Linked DNA regions of Homo sapiens: region 2 is linked to region 1. The links are contacts of gene promoters, found by promoter capture Hi-C in blood cells and fetal thymus (Javierre and others, 2016). All regions are on one chromosome and are shown on one strand. Each heading gives the region's core, a stretch centred on a gene start or on the middle of the fragment in contact. The rest is flanking DNA. Distances are from core to core; before and after follow the strand shown. Region 1 overlaps RPRD2 (regulation of nuclear pre-mRNA domain containing 2). Region 2 holds the start of MRPS21 (mitochondrial ribosomal protein S21).

Evidence for each region. The method cuts DNA at HindIII sites, captures the fragments that hold promoters and counts their contacts. A CHiCAGO score of 5 or more calls a contact.
Region 2: the fragment with the promoter of MRPS21 here is called in contact with a fragment that was not itself captured in region 1 in 2 of 17 cell types (M1 macrophages and M2 macrophages); the score reaches 5.7 in M1 macrophages.

The regions. Positions count from the first base shown.
Region 1 is chr1:150,455,791-150,463,344 of GRCh38, forward strand. It overlaps RPRD2 (regulation of nuclear pre-mRNA domain containing 2), which reads left to right. Exons shown (of 11, transcript NM_015203.5): 8 at 1,498-1,780; 9 at 4,270-4,527. Among named protein-coding and RNA genes, the nearest start is that of TARS2, 28 kb to the right of the region's middle. The HindIII fragment of the contact is 5,293 bases long and covers 2,337-7,554 here.
Region 2 is chr1:150,289,767-150,297,320 of GRCh38, forward strand. It overlaps MRPS21 (mitochondrial ribosomal protein S21), which reads left to right and starts at 4,095. Exons shown (of 3, transcript NM_031901.6): 1 at 4,095-4,132; 2 at 4,569-4,683. The coding sequence starts at 4,601. LOC105371434 (a long non-coding RNA gene) reads right to left here and starts at 4,054. Exons shown (of 2, transcript XR_922129.4): 1 at 3,866-4,054; 2 at 3,534-3,731. RefSeq lists enhancers at 4,383-4,442, 7,276-7,554. The HindIII fragment of the contact is 15,404 bases long and covers 1-6,045 here.

The sequences.
Region 1 (7,554 bases), core at 3,733-6,232:
TAACACCTAAAACTTCTTTTACAACAAACTATTTTTGTTTTGAGATAGGGTCTCGCTTTGTCACCCAAGCTGGAGTGCAGTGGTGTGATCACTGCTCACTGCAGCCCTGACCTGGGCTCAAGCAGTCCTCCCACCTCAGCCCCCTAAGTAGCTGGCACTACAGGCAGCTGGGACTACAGGCGCATGCTACTATGCCCAGCTAATTTTTTTTTATTTTTTTGTAGAGACAGTATCTCCCTATGTTGCCCAGGCTGGTCTTGAACTCCTGGCTTCAAGTGATCCTCCTTGCCTCAGCCTCCCAAAGTGCTGAGATTACAGACATGAACCACCAGGCCCAGCCCCTGTTTTTTAAAACAATAGCATCTGACCTCCCAGGCTTTGCTTTATTTTTGGATTTGATTTTTTTTTTCTTGTCTGTCTCATTTCTTGCTGTATCTCCAGTACCTAGAAGATACATTTAGGCTCTCAATAAATATTGGTTGGTTGGATAGATAAACAGGAGCAAGGGAATATAAATTACAGATAACTGCTAGGTTTCTAACTCAGGCAACTGTGTGGATGGTAATATTCACTTAGGGAGTATAAAAAGCAGAAACTAGAAACTACTGCATGCTTGACAGATGATATATTATCTTGTTTTGTGCCAGCAATGTACGTGATTAATAATAGAAAATCTAATCAGAGTCAAAATGGGTCGCCAGGGATGATGGTGTATGCCTGCAATCCTAGCATTTTGGGAGGCTGAGGTGGGAGGATCACTTGAGCCGAGGAGTTCAAGACTAGCCTGGATAACATAGCAGGACCTCATCTCTCATTTAAGAGAATAAAATTTTATTTAAAAAAAAAAAAAGCAGCCGAGCACGGTGACTCAAGCCTGTAATCCCAGCACTTTGGGAGGCCGAGGTGCATGGATTACCTGACATCAGGAGTTCAAGACCAGCCTGGCCAACATGGTGAAACCCCGTCTCTACTAAAAATTCAAAAATTAGCCGGGTGTGGTGGTGCACGCCTATAATTCCAGCTACTTGGGAGGCCGAGGCAGGAGAATCACTTGAACCCAGGAGGCAGAGGTTGCAGTGAGCTATGATCATGCCACTGCACTGCAGCCTGGGCAACAAGAGCGAAATTCCTTCTCAAAAAAAAAAAGAAGAGGCTGGGTTTGGTGGCTCATGCCTATAATCCCAGCACTTTGGGAGGCTGAGGCGTGTGGATCACTTGAGGCCAGGAGTTCGAGACCAGCGTGGCCAACATGGTGAAACCCCATCTCTATTAAAAATACAAAAATTAGCCAGGCATGGTGATGTGTTCCTGTGGATCCAGCTACTTGGAAGGCTGAGGTAGAAGGATCACTTCAACCCAGGAGGCAGAGGTTGCAGTGAACCAAGATTGTGCCACTACACTCTAGCCTGGGTGACAAAGTGAGACTCTGCCTCAAAAAGAAAAAATGTTAACTTTCTGGTCTTTTTCCAAGGAGTAAACTCCTTTTTTCTCTTTTAGGCATATAAAACCTTTGCTAACCGAGTAAACAATTTAAAGAAGAAGTTGGATCAATTGAAGTCAACCCTTCCAGATCCTGAAGAATCACCAGTTCCTTCCCCAAGCATGGACGCTCCCTCCCCGACTGGTTCTGAGTCTCCTTTTCAGGGAATGGGAGGTGAGGAATCCCAGTCACCAACCATGGAGAGTGAGAAATCTGCCACACCTGAACCTGTGACAGATAATCGTGATGTGGAAGACATGGAACTCTCAGATGTGGAAGATGATGGGTCAAAAATCATTGGTATGTCTTTATGTGATTAATAGACAACTTATTCCTTATCTGTTTTGCCTTCTCAGCAATGAATACATCACAGGCAGGTATTGAAAGATAGTTCATTTCTTAAAAGATAGAACACCAAGGTAGCATTATAATCTCTAGAGCAGTTGTTGAGGATTTGATATGCCAAATGTGTTAAGAATCATTGCTCAGTATCTGCACTGTTAAAATGCTAGCTACTAGGCCATGGGCGGTGGCTCATGCCTGTAATCCCAGCACTTTGGGAGGCCAAGGCAGGTGGATCACCTGAGGTCAGGAGTTCGAGACCACCCTAGCCAACATGGTGTAACCCTGTCTCTACTAAAAATACAAAACTTATCCGGGTATGGTGGCAGGTACCTGTAATTCCAGCTACCCGGGAGGCTGAGGCAAGAGAATCGCTTGAACCTGAGAGAGGGGTTGCAGTGAGCTGAGATTATGCCACTGCACTCCAGTCTGGGAGACAGAGCGAGACTCCGTCTTGGGGGGACGGTCGGGGGAAAGTAGCTACTAGCTACCTGTGGCTAAGCATTTGAAATGAAGCTTGTCCAACTTGAGATGTGCTATAAGTATAAAATACACATTGAGGCCAGGTGCAGTGGCTCATGCCTGTAATCTCAGCACTTTGTGAGGCTGAGGCGGGCAGATTGCTTGAGCCCAGGACTTTGAGACCAGCCTGGGCAACATAGTGAAACCCTGTCTCTACAAAAAATATAAAAATTAGTCAGCGTGGTGGCATGCGTCTGTAGCCCCAGCTGCTGGAAAGGCTGAGGCAGGAGAATCACTTGAGCCTGGGAGGCGGAGGTTGCAGTGAGCCAAGACCATGTCACTGCACTCCAGCCTAGATGACAGAGGGAGACCCTCTCTCCAAAAAAAAAAAACCAGACACATTGGAGTCCAGAAACTAGGCCGAGCATGGTGGCAGAAACTCTCCCAAAGAGTTAAAATATCTCATTAATAATTTTTTATTTATAACACTGAAATGAAAATATTTGGGATATATTAGGATGAATAAAATAGAATTTTTAAATTACATGTGTCTGTTTCTTTTTATTTGTTTGTTTTTGAGAGAAAAAGAGAGTTTCCCTCTGTCGCCCAGGCTGGAGTGCAGTTGCGCAATCTTGGCTCACTGCATCCTCCATCTCCTGCGTTCAAACAATTCTCCTGCCTCAGCCTCCCGAGTAGCTAGGATTGATTGTAGGTGCATACCACCACACCCGGCTATTTTTTGTATGTTTATTAGAGACGGAGTTTCACCATGTTGGGCAGGCTGGTCTCGAACTCCTGACCTCAAGTGATCCGCCTGCCTCGGCCTCTCAAAGTGCTGGGAGGTGGGCTTGAGCCACCATGCCCGGCCCTGATTCTTTTTTTGTTAATTTGGCTGCTAGAAAATTTAAACTTACATATGTGGCATATGTGGCTTAAATTGTATTCATGTTAAATAGCACTGTTTTGGGATGAGGGGTCACTTATACTGGAATTCCTTATTCTCTGTCACTTTTGACCATCAAGAATTCCAAAGTCAGTTTGTTAATCACACTTTCAGAAATAACCTGATTTGGTGAATTGTTTCTCTTATATCCCCAGCCTTCATAAATCTTATTAGATAGTTTGACTCCTGTTGAATTCAATGCACTATTGATACAGCCCTTAAAGCATTAAAAATAATTATTCAAGGTGATTGAGAGTTAAAACATTGTAGTTTCAAATTAGCTAGTGCCTGATTGCACCCCCCAATAGGGCAATTTCAGGAAGCCAGAGGAAAATACAATGAACACTATAGAGGTTCTGTTTCTAAGAACAGAAGTTCTTAGAAAGTTCTCAGGTTAATGGAAAAGAAAAACACAGGACAATTTATGAAAAATATCATTTCCAAAAGACAGAACACAAATGTGTACCAAATAATAACATGCTTCTTGAATTGTACAGATTTAATACACAAATACTAAGAAAATGCAAAGGAATCATTGAAAAGTAAGATACAAGATAAATTCTGGAAATTGCTTGCTTTTTTTTTTTTTTTTGAGACGGGAGTCTCGCTTTGTTGCCCAGGCTGGAATGCAGTGGCACAATCTCGGCTCATTGCAACCTCTGCCTCCTGGGTTCAAGCGATTCTCGTGTCTCAGCCTCTGTAGTAGCTGGGATTATAGACGCCTGCCACCACACCTAGCTAATTTTTTGTATTTTTTGTGGAGGCAGGATTTCACCATGTTGACCAGGCTGGTCTCGAAATCCTGACCTCACATGAGCCATTGTCCCCAGCTGGAAATTGCTTTTAAGCAGATATTAAAGGTGGGAATTATCATAAATTATGAAGAGTATGACTTTTTCAAAAAAGCATGAAGTGAGTCGTTGTTTTCTCTAAAGTAGTGCCTTTTCCCCCAAGTCCGGAAATATTAGGACATGTTATTTCATATAGGAAGCAAAGTCTGGAAAGTAGTAGGATGTAATATCTCTTTTCTTTGTTGAAACAGTCGAGGACAGGAAGGAAAAACCTGCAGAGAAGTCAGCTGTATCCACTTCTGTACCTACAAAGCCAACAGAAAATATCTCAAAGGCCTCTTCATGTACCCCAGTGCCTGTGACCATGACAGCAACTCCACCTCTTCCAAAGCCTGTGAATACTTCTCTTTCCCCTTCCCCAGCATTGGCTTTGCCAAACCTGGCTAATGTGGATCTGGCAAAGATCAGTTCCATCCTTAGCAGTTTAACATCAGTCATGAAAAATACTGGTAAGTAAGCCCAGTAAGGAGGATAAAAAGTTAATTTCCATCTTTTTAAATTGAATCATTAATCTGTTTTTGGGGGGGTTGTTGTTGTTGTTGTTGTTGTTGTTTAGACAGAGTTTCGCTCTGTCTCCCAGGCAGGAGTGCAGTGGTGCAATCTTGGCTCACTGCAACCTCTGCCTCCCGGGTTCAAGTGTTCTGCTGCTTCAGCCTCCCAAGTAGCTGGGATTACAGGCACCTGCTACCACGCCCGGCTAATTTTTGTATTTTTAGTAGAGATGGGGTTTCACCATGTTGGCCAGGCTGGTCTTGAACTTCTGACCTCAGGTGATACACCCACCTCGGCCTCCCAAAGTGCTGGGATTATAGGCGTGAGTCACCGTGCCCAGTCTGTTGTTGATTTTTTTTAATTAATGATTTTTTTTTTTTTTTCTGAGACGGAGTTTCAGTCATGTTACCTAGGCTGGAGTGCAATGGTGCAAACTTCACTCACTGCAGCCTCCATCTCCCAGGTTCAAGCAATTCTGCCTTAGCCTCCCAAATAGCTGGGACTACAGGCATGTGCCACCATGCCCAGCTAATTTTGTATTTTTGGTAGAGACGGGGTTTCACCATGTTGGTCAGGCTGGTCTCAAACTCCTGACCTCAGGTGATCCACCCATCTTGGCCTCCCAAAGTGCTGGGATTACAGGCGTGAGCCAGCGCACCCAGCTAAATTAATTGTTAAATTAAAAAATAATCCAATAATCGGTCATTATAGAAAAATTAGAAAATAAGCAAAGAGAATGAAATAAATATCTAGGCCAGGCGTGGTGGCTCATGCCTGTAATCCCAGCACTTTGGGAGGCTGAGATGGTAGATTGCCTGAGGCCAGGAGTTCGAGACCAGCCTTGGCAATATAGTGAGACCCTATCTCTAAATAAAAAATTTTAAATGAAAAAAATTTTTTAATAAATATCTATAATCCTGTTACCCCAAAGGAAACCACTTGTGTTTACCCTTAAAAGTATATGTGTATATGAATGTTTTGGAGAATTAAATATGTATAACAATTTTTAAAAAAGTAAGTGTATTGCATATACTGTTTCAAAACTAGCTATTTAAAAGTTAATTACATATCTTGAATGTTTTTATGAATCATTAAATATTTCTCTACATCATTTTTAATAGCTGCATAGCATGTGGTAACTTATCTAATCCTTTATTATTAGGCACTTAGTATGTTTCCAGTTTTTTACTGTTATGAAGAATACTATAGGGCCAGGTGTGGTGGCTCACGCCACCACTTTGGGAGGTGGAGGCAGGTTGATCACTTGAGGCCAGGAGTTGGAGACAAACCTGGACAACATGGCGAAACCCCATCTCTACTTAAAAAAACAAAAATTATGGCCGAGCGTGGTGGCTCACACCTGTAATCCCAGCACTTTGGGAGGCCGAGGCGGGTGGATCACGAGGTCAAGAGATCGAGACCATCCTGGCCAACATGGTAAAACCCCGTCTCTACTAAAAATACAAAAAAATAGCCAGGCATGGTGGCGGGCGCCTGTAGTCCCAGCTGCTCGGGAGGCTAAGGCAGGAGAATGGCCTGAACCCAGGAGGCGGAGCTTGCAGTGAGCCAGGATCGCGCCACTGCACAGCCTGGGCGACAGAGCAATACTCCGTCTCAAAAAAAAACAAAAAACAAAAATTAGGCCAGGTTTGGTGGCTCACGCCTGTATTTCCAGCACTTTGGGAGGCCAAGGCAGGCGGATCACCTGAAGTCAGGAGTTCAAGACCAGCCTGGCCAACTTGGTGAAACCCTGTCTACTAAAAATACAAAAATTAGCTGGGCATGGTGGCATGCATCTGTAGTCCCAGCTACTTGGGAGGCTGAGGCAGGACAATCACTTGAACCTGGGAGGCGGGGGTTGCAGTGAGCCAAGATCACGCCACTGCACTTCAGCCTGGGCAACAGAGCAAGACTCCGTCTCAAAAAAAGAAAAAATTCGCCAGCTGTGGTGGCACGTACCTGTAATCCCAGCTACTCATAAGGCTGAGGCATAAGTATCATTTGAACCCAGAAGGCAGAGGTTGCAGTGATCCAGGATCAAGCCACTGCACTCCAGCCTGGTTGACAGAGCGAGACTCTTGTCTCAAAAAAAAACAAAAAACAAAAAAAAAACCTGTAAATTATAAAAATTTTATGAATAACCCTTTGCAAGGGTTAAGTATATAAAACCTTTTTAATGGAATTTTATTTTTATTTATTTATTTATTTATTTTGAGACAGTCTCACTCTGTCCCCCAGGCTGCTGGAGTGCAGTGGCGCGATCTCAGCTCACTGCAAGCTCCGCCTCCCAGGTCACGCCATTCTCCTGCCTCAGCCTCCTGAGTAGCTGGGACTACAGGTGCCTGCCACCACGCCCAGCTAATTTTTTGTATTTTTGGTAGAGACGGGCTTTTACCATGTTAGCCAGGATGGTCTCGATCTCCTGACCTCGTGATCTGCTCGCGTTGGCCTCCCAAAGTGCTGGGATTACAGGCGTGAGCCACCGCATCCGGCCATTTATTTATTTATTTTGAGACAAGGTCCCACTCCATCACCCAGGCTGGAGTGCAGGGGTGCAGTCATGGCTCACTGTAACCTCAAACTTCTGGGTTCAAGTGATCCTCCCACCTGAGCCTTTGAGTGGCTGAGATCACACGTGTGCACCACCACATCTGGCTAAGTTTTGTGGGTTTTTTGGTAGAGACAGTGTCTTACTATGTTGCCCAGGCTGATCTTGAACTCCTGGGCTCAAGTGTTCCTCCCATCTTGGCCTCCTAAAATGTTGGGATTACAATCATGAGCCACTGCACCCAGCCCGAAATTTTTTAAATAAATTTTGCCAGGCAAGGTGGGATACCGTGTAGTCCCAGCTACTCGGGAGGCAAATGCAGGAGGATCACTTGAAGCCAGGAATTCCAGGACGTGTAGTTCACTGTGATCACGCCTGTGAATGTCCACTGCACTCCAGCCTGAGCAACCCAGTGAGACCATATCTCAAAAACTAA
Region 2 (7,554 bases), core at 2,845-5,344, 170 kb before region 1:
CTGACCAACATGGAGAAACCCCATCTGTACTAAAAATACAAAAAAAAAAAATTAAGCTGGGCATGGTGGTGCATGCCTTTAATCCCAGCTACTCTGGAGGCTGAGGCAGGAGAATCCCTTGAACCTGGGAGGCGGAGGTTGCGGTGATCCAAGATTAAGCCATTGCACTCTGGCCTGGGCAACAAGAGTGAAACTCCGTCTCAAAAAAAAAAAAAAGAAACGAAACTTAGGAGACTTATCTAGGACAACACAATATGTGGACAGAACTCGGTTTCCAGTCTGATGTGTTTTCCAGTAATCACCAATCAAATTATTCTTTCCTGAAAACATGTCCTGCTACCACTTTTTTTCTTTTTTTTTGAGACAGAGTCTCACATGTCACCCAGGCTGGAGTACAATGGTGCGATCCCGGCTCACTGCAACCTCCGCCTCCTAAGTTCAAATGATTCTGCCTCAGCCTCCTGAGTAGCTGGGATTACAGGCACCCACTACCACATCCAGCTATTTTTTGTATTTTTAGTAGAGATGGGCTTTCACCATGTTGGCCAGGCTGATCTTGAACTCCTGACCTCATGATCCACCCACTTCGGCCTCCCAATCCCACGCCTGCTGGGATTACAGGCGTGAGCCACTGTGCCAGCCAGCTACCACTTTTTACAGTCTCCTCTTCTGTTAGTGCTATCTGTGGTATCACTAAGTACCATAGTTTTTTGTTTTGTTTTGTTTTTTCCTGGATAACTAGGCTTAAAATTTGGTGCCATCTGGTCACCAGATCCTTTTTATTCTTTATTTGGAATATCTCTTAAAATCCATTTCTTCCTATCCATTCCATTGCCACCAGTCTGGTCTAGACTTCACTGTACCAGTAGTCTCTCTTCTAATCCCTTTTCGCTGATAACCAAGTTAATTTTCCTAGAACAGTGCTTTGCATATCATATCCTATTCAAATTCTTCAATGGCTCTCGAATGCTTTGAGAAGAAAGTCCAAAATCTTTAGTCACAGTCTCTATTTTTCCCTGTGCTCCCCTGCATGATCTCTCTGTTGCAGGTTTTTGTTTTGTTTTGTTTTGACTCCTGAACACTACACCTTTTTGCCCCTAAGCTCTTGTTCATGCTGTTCACCTTGCCAAACCTTTCCTGCTTCTGTTATCTAAACCCTGCCCTCTTTCAACGACTAACTCAAGTCCATCCTATCATTCTTTCTGTTAAACATGATCTATACACTCAGTGTTTGGCCGTTTACTCCATTAAATGGAATCATGTACATAAAATACCTAGTGCAGGGTTTGGGGCCTGGTGGGGTGGCTCACACTTGTAATCCTAGCACTTTGGGAGACCAGCCTGGACAACATAGTGAAACTATTAAAAATACAAAAAATTAGTCTCTACTAAAAATACAAAAAATTAGCTAGGCGTAGTGGCATGTCCCTGTAATCCCAGCTACTCGGGAGGCTGAGGTGGAAGGATCACCTGAGCTCAGGAGGTCCAGGCTACAGTGAGCTATGATGGTGCCACTGCATTCTAGCCTGGGCAACAAGAGTGAGACTCTGTTTCAGAAAAACAAAAACAAAAATAAAAAACACCCACCTAGTACAGGGTTTAGTATATAGTAGGCTCTCAAAAATGTTACTCTCCAGCTGATCCAATGGTAGTGGTTAACAGAACTTATTAACATCAGTTCCTGTCTCCCTTCCTTTCTTTCAAAGTATCTTCATATTTTTTTTCTCTTTTTTTTTTTTTTTTTTTTGGAGACAGAGTCTCGCTCTGTCACCCAGGCTGGAGTGCAGTGGCACCATCTCAGCTCACTGCAACCTCCACCTCCAGGGTTCAAGTGATTCTCTTGCCTCAGCCTCCCAAGTAGCTGAGACTACAGGCGAGCGCCGCCACGCCCAGCTGATCTTTTGTATTTTTAGTAGAGACGGGGTTTCACTGTGTTAGCCAGGATGGTCTCGATCTCCTGACCTCGTGATCCACCCGCCTCAGCCTCCCAAAGTGCTGGGATTACAGGCGTGAGCCACCGTGCCCGGCATATCTTCATATTTTATTCTATTTGATTCCCATGACAAATTTCGTGAGACTGAACAGGGCAAAATTAGTCCCATTTTAGAGATGAGGAAATAGAGTGAGTCTGGCAAGGGCCAGATAGTAAATATTTTAGGCTTTGTAGGCTTTATGTCTCTATTGCAACTACCCAATTCGGCCATCGTAGCCCAAAGCAGCCATACATAACACACAGTCAAATAAGCATGACTGTAGGTCAACAGCCTTATTTACAAAAACAGGTGGAGCAGGATTTGACCTGTAAACTGTAGTCTCCAGACCCCTGGTTTTAAATGACTTCTTCAAGGTCATAGGCCTGATGAGTATTAGAATTGGGATAGAATCCAGATCTCCCAACTTTGAAGCCAGTGCCTTTCACCACATTATGCTGTGGCATATTTTATTTATTATTTGTTTGTTTATTTATTTTTTGAAATGGAGTTTCACTCTTGTTGCCCAGGCTGGAGTGCAATGGTGCGATCTCGGCTCACTGCCACCTCCGCCTCCCAGGTTCATGTGATTCTCCTGCCTCAGCCTCCCAAGCAGCTGGGATTACAGGCATGTGGCACCACGCCTGGCTAATTTTGTATTTTTAGTAGAGACAGGGTTTCACCATGTTGGCCAGGCTGGTCTCAAACTCCTGACCTCAGGTGATCTACCCGCCTCAGCCTCCCAAAGTGCTGGGATTACAGGCGTGCGCCACCGCGCCTGGCCCTATTTATTTATTTATTCATTTTTAATTTTTTGAGACAGGGTCTCACTCTATTGCCCAGGCCAGGGTGCAGTGGTGTGATCAAAGCTCGCTGCAGCCTTGACCTTCCAGGCTCAGGTGATCCTCCCCCTCAGCCTCCCAAGTAGCTAGGACAACAGGCCATGCCACTACACCCGGCTAATTTCTATATTTTTTGTAAAGACGGAGTTTTGCTTTGTTGCCCAGGCTGGTCTCGAACTTCTGGGCTCAAGTGATCCGCCTGCCTTGGCCTCCCAAAGTGCTGGGATTACAGGTGTGAGCCACCGCGTCCAGCCCATATAATTTATTTTGCATTTATTATATACTACTTTGTTTTAGTATCTTTTATGTGGTCCTAGTGGTCCAGGAGGCACTAGAGTGGTATCAACAGTATCTGACACAGAGTAGTCATTCAGTGAAAGTTTGTTGACAAGCATAATAATGTCCCAATCTAGTTCTATTTCGTTACTTTGGACCTGGCTTACTCTGAGGTGGGCTTAAGTGTTAGTGTAAGTTATTAGCATCAACTGATGATGCACACGTCTGTGTCTGTGTCTGTGTGTGTGTGTGTGTGCGTGAGCGTGCGCGCGCACTCTCTCTCTAAGGGAGGTACGTTTTCCTACAGCCATTAGATGTTAACTTACGTGAATAACCATAAATGGATATGTACAGGTAGCATACAAATAGGAGGACGGGTGTCTCCACAGCGAAGAAGAAATTTAAAAGGAGGTTTTTCAGTAGGTCTCATTAGCACGAAAAGGCATAGAAGCTGACATAATTTTTTATTCTAAACCCTGCAGGTGTTTCCCATATATCTTTATTGATTTCACTTTATGTAGTTAAATTAGTGGGAAGATGATATAGGAAACTCACAGTATGTTTATTTCTTTTCCTTAGCACTTAGGCAGATGACGTGTATGAATCAATCTATTTTTCGTCCGGAGAGCAGATCTCAAAGAGTCTGTCCTTTCCAAAGAGAAAACAGGAAGCATCCTCAGGAAGCGCCTACTTCTCTTGTTTTCCATCGAGAAAGAGAAATGGCTCAAATATTTATCAAGGATTTCACAGGATTAAGGGGTATGAAATTGGGCTGACCTTCTCAGAGGCCGAAGGACTTCGACTCCATGAGAGGGCGAGAAACGTGTTTCGGGGGAATTTAAGTCAATGAGTATTTTGCTTTGTCAGGTGTAGAGTCCAGGCCCGGGGAAGAGAGGCAGTCAACAGAGGCCAGAAAGGACGTTGCTATGGTTTCCACGCACGTTGTCTCCCTCGGCCTGTTTCTTTGCGCGGCGCTGGCGATTCCGTAATTTCCGCTTCCGGTAGTGAGAACCCTTCCGGTGGGCTAGGTACTGAGCGCGCGAGGTGAGGAGTTGTGCAGGGTTTGGGGAAAGGAAGGCTGGCTTGGCGAGAGGGCAGGTTTGCGGGCTTTCGCCCCCTTTTCCAAAGACCAACAAAGAGTCCTTCCCCAACTCCCAACTCAACCCCTTTTGGAACTATGTGTGGTGGTTGGGACCCTGTGGCGCATCCTTGTCGCTCGTGTCCTTCTCATGCCCGGCGACGCGTCTTTGTGGTAACGCCCTGCTGCCATCTCTTTTCTTCTCTATGCGAGGATTTGGACTGGCAGTGAGAATAAGAGACAACGATTCACGTCTACTTTCTAGGATGACTTCCATGTGCTCCATCTCGCGCGTCCCTGAGCATGTTGAATTTCCAAATCCTAAATAAGCCGCGCGGTGTAGTTTGTATTATGTTGCGTTTCTCTTTCTGCTTTCCTCGCCCTTTCTCCATCATCCTTTAGGCTCTACAGAGTGAAGGTTTAAATCCAAGGTCATGGCAAAACATCTGAAGTTCATCGCCAGGACTGTGATGGTACAGGAAGGGAACGTGGAAAGCGCATACAGGACCCTAAACAGGTAACTGTTAAGGGACCAGAATCATGCCTAGACTCTCTGGGAAGTGCGGTGGTTATTCTCTCCCTTCCCCTTTCGTTGATTGTTCTCAAAACAGTGCCAGCCCAGGTGTTCACAGTCTCTTAAAACGTCTCAGCCCCTCAGTTTATTATCTTAAAAATGAAGTTCTGGGCCGGGCGCGGTGGCTCACGCCTGTAATCCCAGCACTTTGGGAGGCCGAGGCGGGTGGATCACATGCGGTCAGGAGTTTCAGACCAGCCTGGCCAACATGGTGAAACCGTGTCTCTACTAAAAATACAAAAATTAGCCGGGCGTGGTGGCAAACGCCTGTAATCTCAGCTACTCGAGAGCTGAGGCAGGAGAATCGCTTGAACCCGGGAGGCAGAGGTTGTAGTGAGCCAAGATCGAGCCACTTGCACTCCAGCCTGGGCAAGAGTGAGACTCTATCTCAAAAAAAAAGAAAAAAAGTTCTTCCTCAAACCTAACTGTATGAATTGTATTCAACAAGTAATCACCCCCCGCACCTCCCCGCTTTTAATTTTAATTTTAATTTTTTTTTTTTTTTTTGAGGCAGAGTCTCGCTCTGTCACCCAGGCTGGAGTGCAGCGGCACGATCTCGGCTCACTGCAAGCTCCGCTTCCTGGGTTCACGCCATTCTCCTGCCTCAGCCTCCTGAGCAGCCAGTACTACAGGCTCCCGCCACCACGCCCGGTTAATTTTTGTATTTATAGTAGAGATGGGGTTTCACCGTGTTGGCCAGGATGGTCTTGATCTCCTGACCTCAAGTGATCTGCCTGCCTCTGCCTCCCAAAGTGCTAGGATTACAGGCGTAAGCCACAGCGCCCGGCCCCGCTTTTTAAAAATTGAGACAGGGTCTTGCTGTGTCACTCAACAATCCTCCTGCCTCAGTCTCCTGACTAGCTGGGTCTAGTGACGCACGCCACCACCGCAGTTAATTTTTGTATTTTCTGTACAGAGGGAGTCTCGCCATGTTGCCCAAGCGTAATGACTCCTTTTATGAGGAACCTGAATTCTTTAGAAGACTTAAAAAAGAGCCCAAATGGAAAATCAAGATGTGAAGTTGCTAGGAAGCGGGAACGTAGTATGATAAATAGAAAGCTGAGGGAGTGATTGGTGTGGGACAAAGCTAAAGGAAAAGGTGAATTCAGATTGGCATCCTAGAGAAGCAGGCAAAAGATGGGAAAGCTCACTGGGTGGGATGACTCACACCTGTAATCCTAGCACTTTGGGAAGCCTAGTGGGGAGGATTGCTTGTTGCCAAGAGTTCAAGACCAATCTGGTAAACATAGCAAGACCCCATTTCTAAAAATATTAAGAAGAAAGGGAAAAAAAGAAAGATGGGAAAGCTTACAAGTTTTCAGGAAAGATACAGCATAAGGAAAAATACATAAATGGAAACAAACTAGCTGGGGTGGAGGAGCTTTATAGCTTCATTGAAAATTTTTGAATGCCAGGCTAAGAGATGTAGAAGAGCCCTAGTAATACTTTTTTTTTTTTTTTTTTAAAACGGAGTCTTGCTCTGTTGCCAGGCTGGAGCGCAGTGGTGCAGTCTCGGCTCACTGCAGCCTCCGCCTCCTGGGTTCAATTGACTCTTCTGCCTCAGTCTCCTGAGTAGCTGGGACTACAGGTGCCCACCACCACGCCTGGCTGATTTTTGTATTTTTAGTAGAGAGGGTTTCACCACGTTAGCCAAGATGGTCTCAATCTCTTGACCTCGTGATCCACCCGCCTTGGCCTCCCAAAGTGCTGGGATTACAGGCATGAGCCACTGCATCCGGCCCAGCCCTAGTAGTACTTTACCACTGAATTCTCAAGCAAAAAGTTCTTAACCTTCCCTTCTCACCAGTTGTGTGGATTTTGACTTTCTGGTATGACTCACGCGTCATTTTCTTTCCCCAATGTGAAGTAACATTTGGAGAAACAAACGCTTGTTGAGTTGAATTATCAAAGAATTGTAAGGAAGGGGCTCCTGTAGTGCTAGCTGCTCCAGAGGCTGAGGCAAGAGGATTGCTTGAACCCAGGAGTTCAAGACTGTAGTGTGAGTGCACTCTTGTTGTGCCTGTGAATAACCACTCCACTCTAACCTAGGAAGCATAGTGAGACCATGTCTCTTAAAAAAAATGTAGGAAAGATATTGCATGGGCTGCATTAAGGCCTTTAATGTGGTAGCTTTATTTCACAAGTAAGGGAAGCCTTGGAAGATCAGATTATCTTTATTGGGTTATGCAGTTATTGAATGGTGGAGAGGAGCCTAAAGCACATCTTTTTAGTGCAATGTTCTTTAATAATTATTACTAGTCTTACTAGAAATGGAAAGACTTATGGTGGTTCATTTTCCAATTTAGAATCCTTGTCTTGTCATTTCAGCAGGTGTCGCTTTAAAAAAAAAACCAGAATCCTCATCTGATTGGGTTTAAATATTGGTAGGGTTCTTGAGGACTGAGAGGGCAAAGGAAAGGGAACCTAGTTCTTAGCAAAGCAGAGAGTTCTAGGTGTGGAAGGCTGGATGGCAGAAGACCACAGTGAGGAAAAAAATGCTGTCAGCCGGGCGCGGTGGCTCACGCCTGTAATCCCAGCACTTTGGGAGGCCAAGGCGGGCGGATCACGAGGTCAGGACATCGAGACCATCCTGGCTAACACGGTGAAACCCCGTCTCTACTAAAAATACAAAAGATTAGCCGGGCGTGGTGGCACACACCTGTAGTCCCAGCTACTGAGGAGGCTGAGACAGGAGAATCGCTTGAACCCGGGAGGAGGAGGTTGCAGTGAGCCGAGAGCGTGCCACTACACTCCAGCCTGGGCAACAGAGCGAGACTCTGTCTACAAAAAAAAAAAGAAAAAATGCTGTCAGAA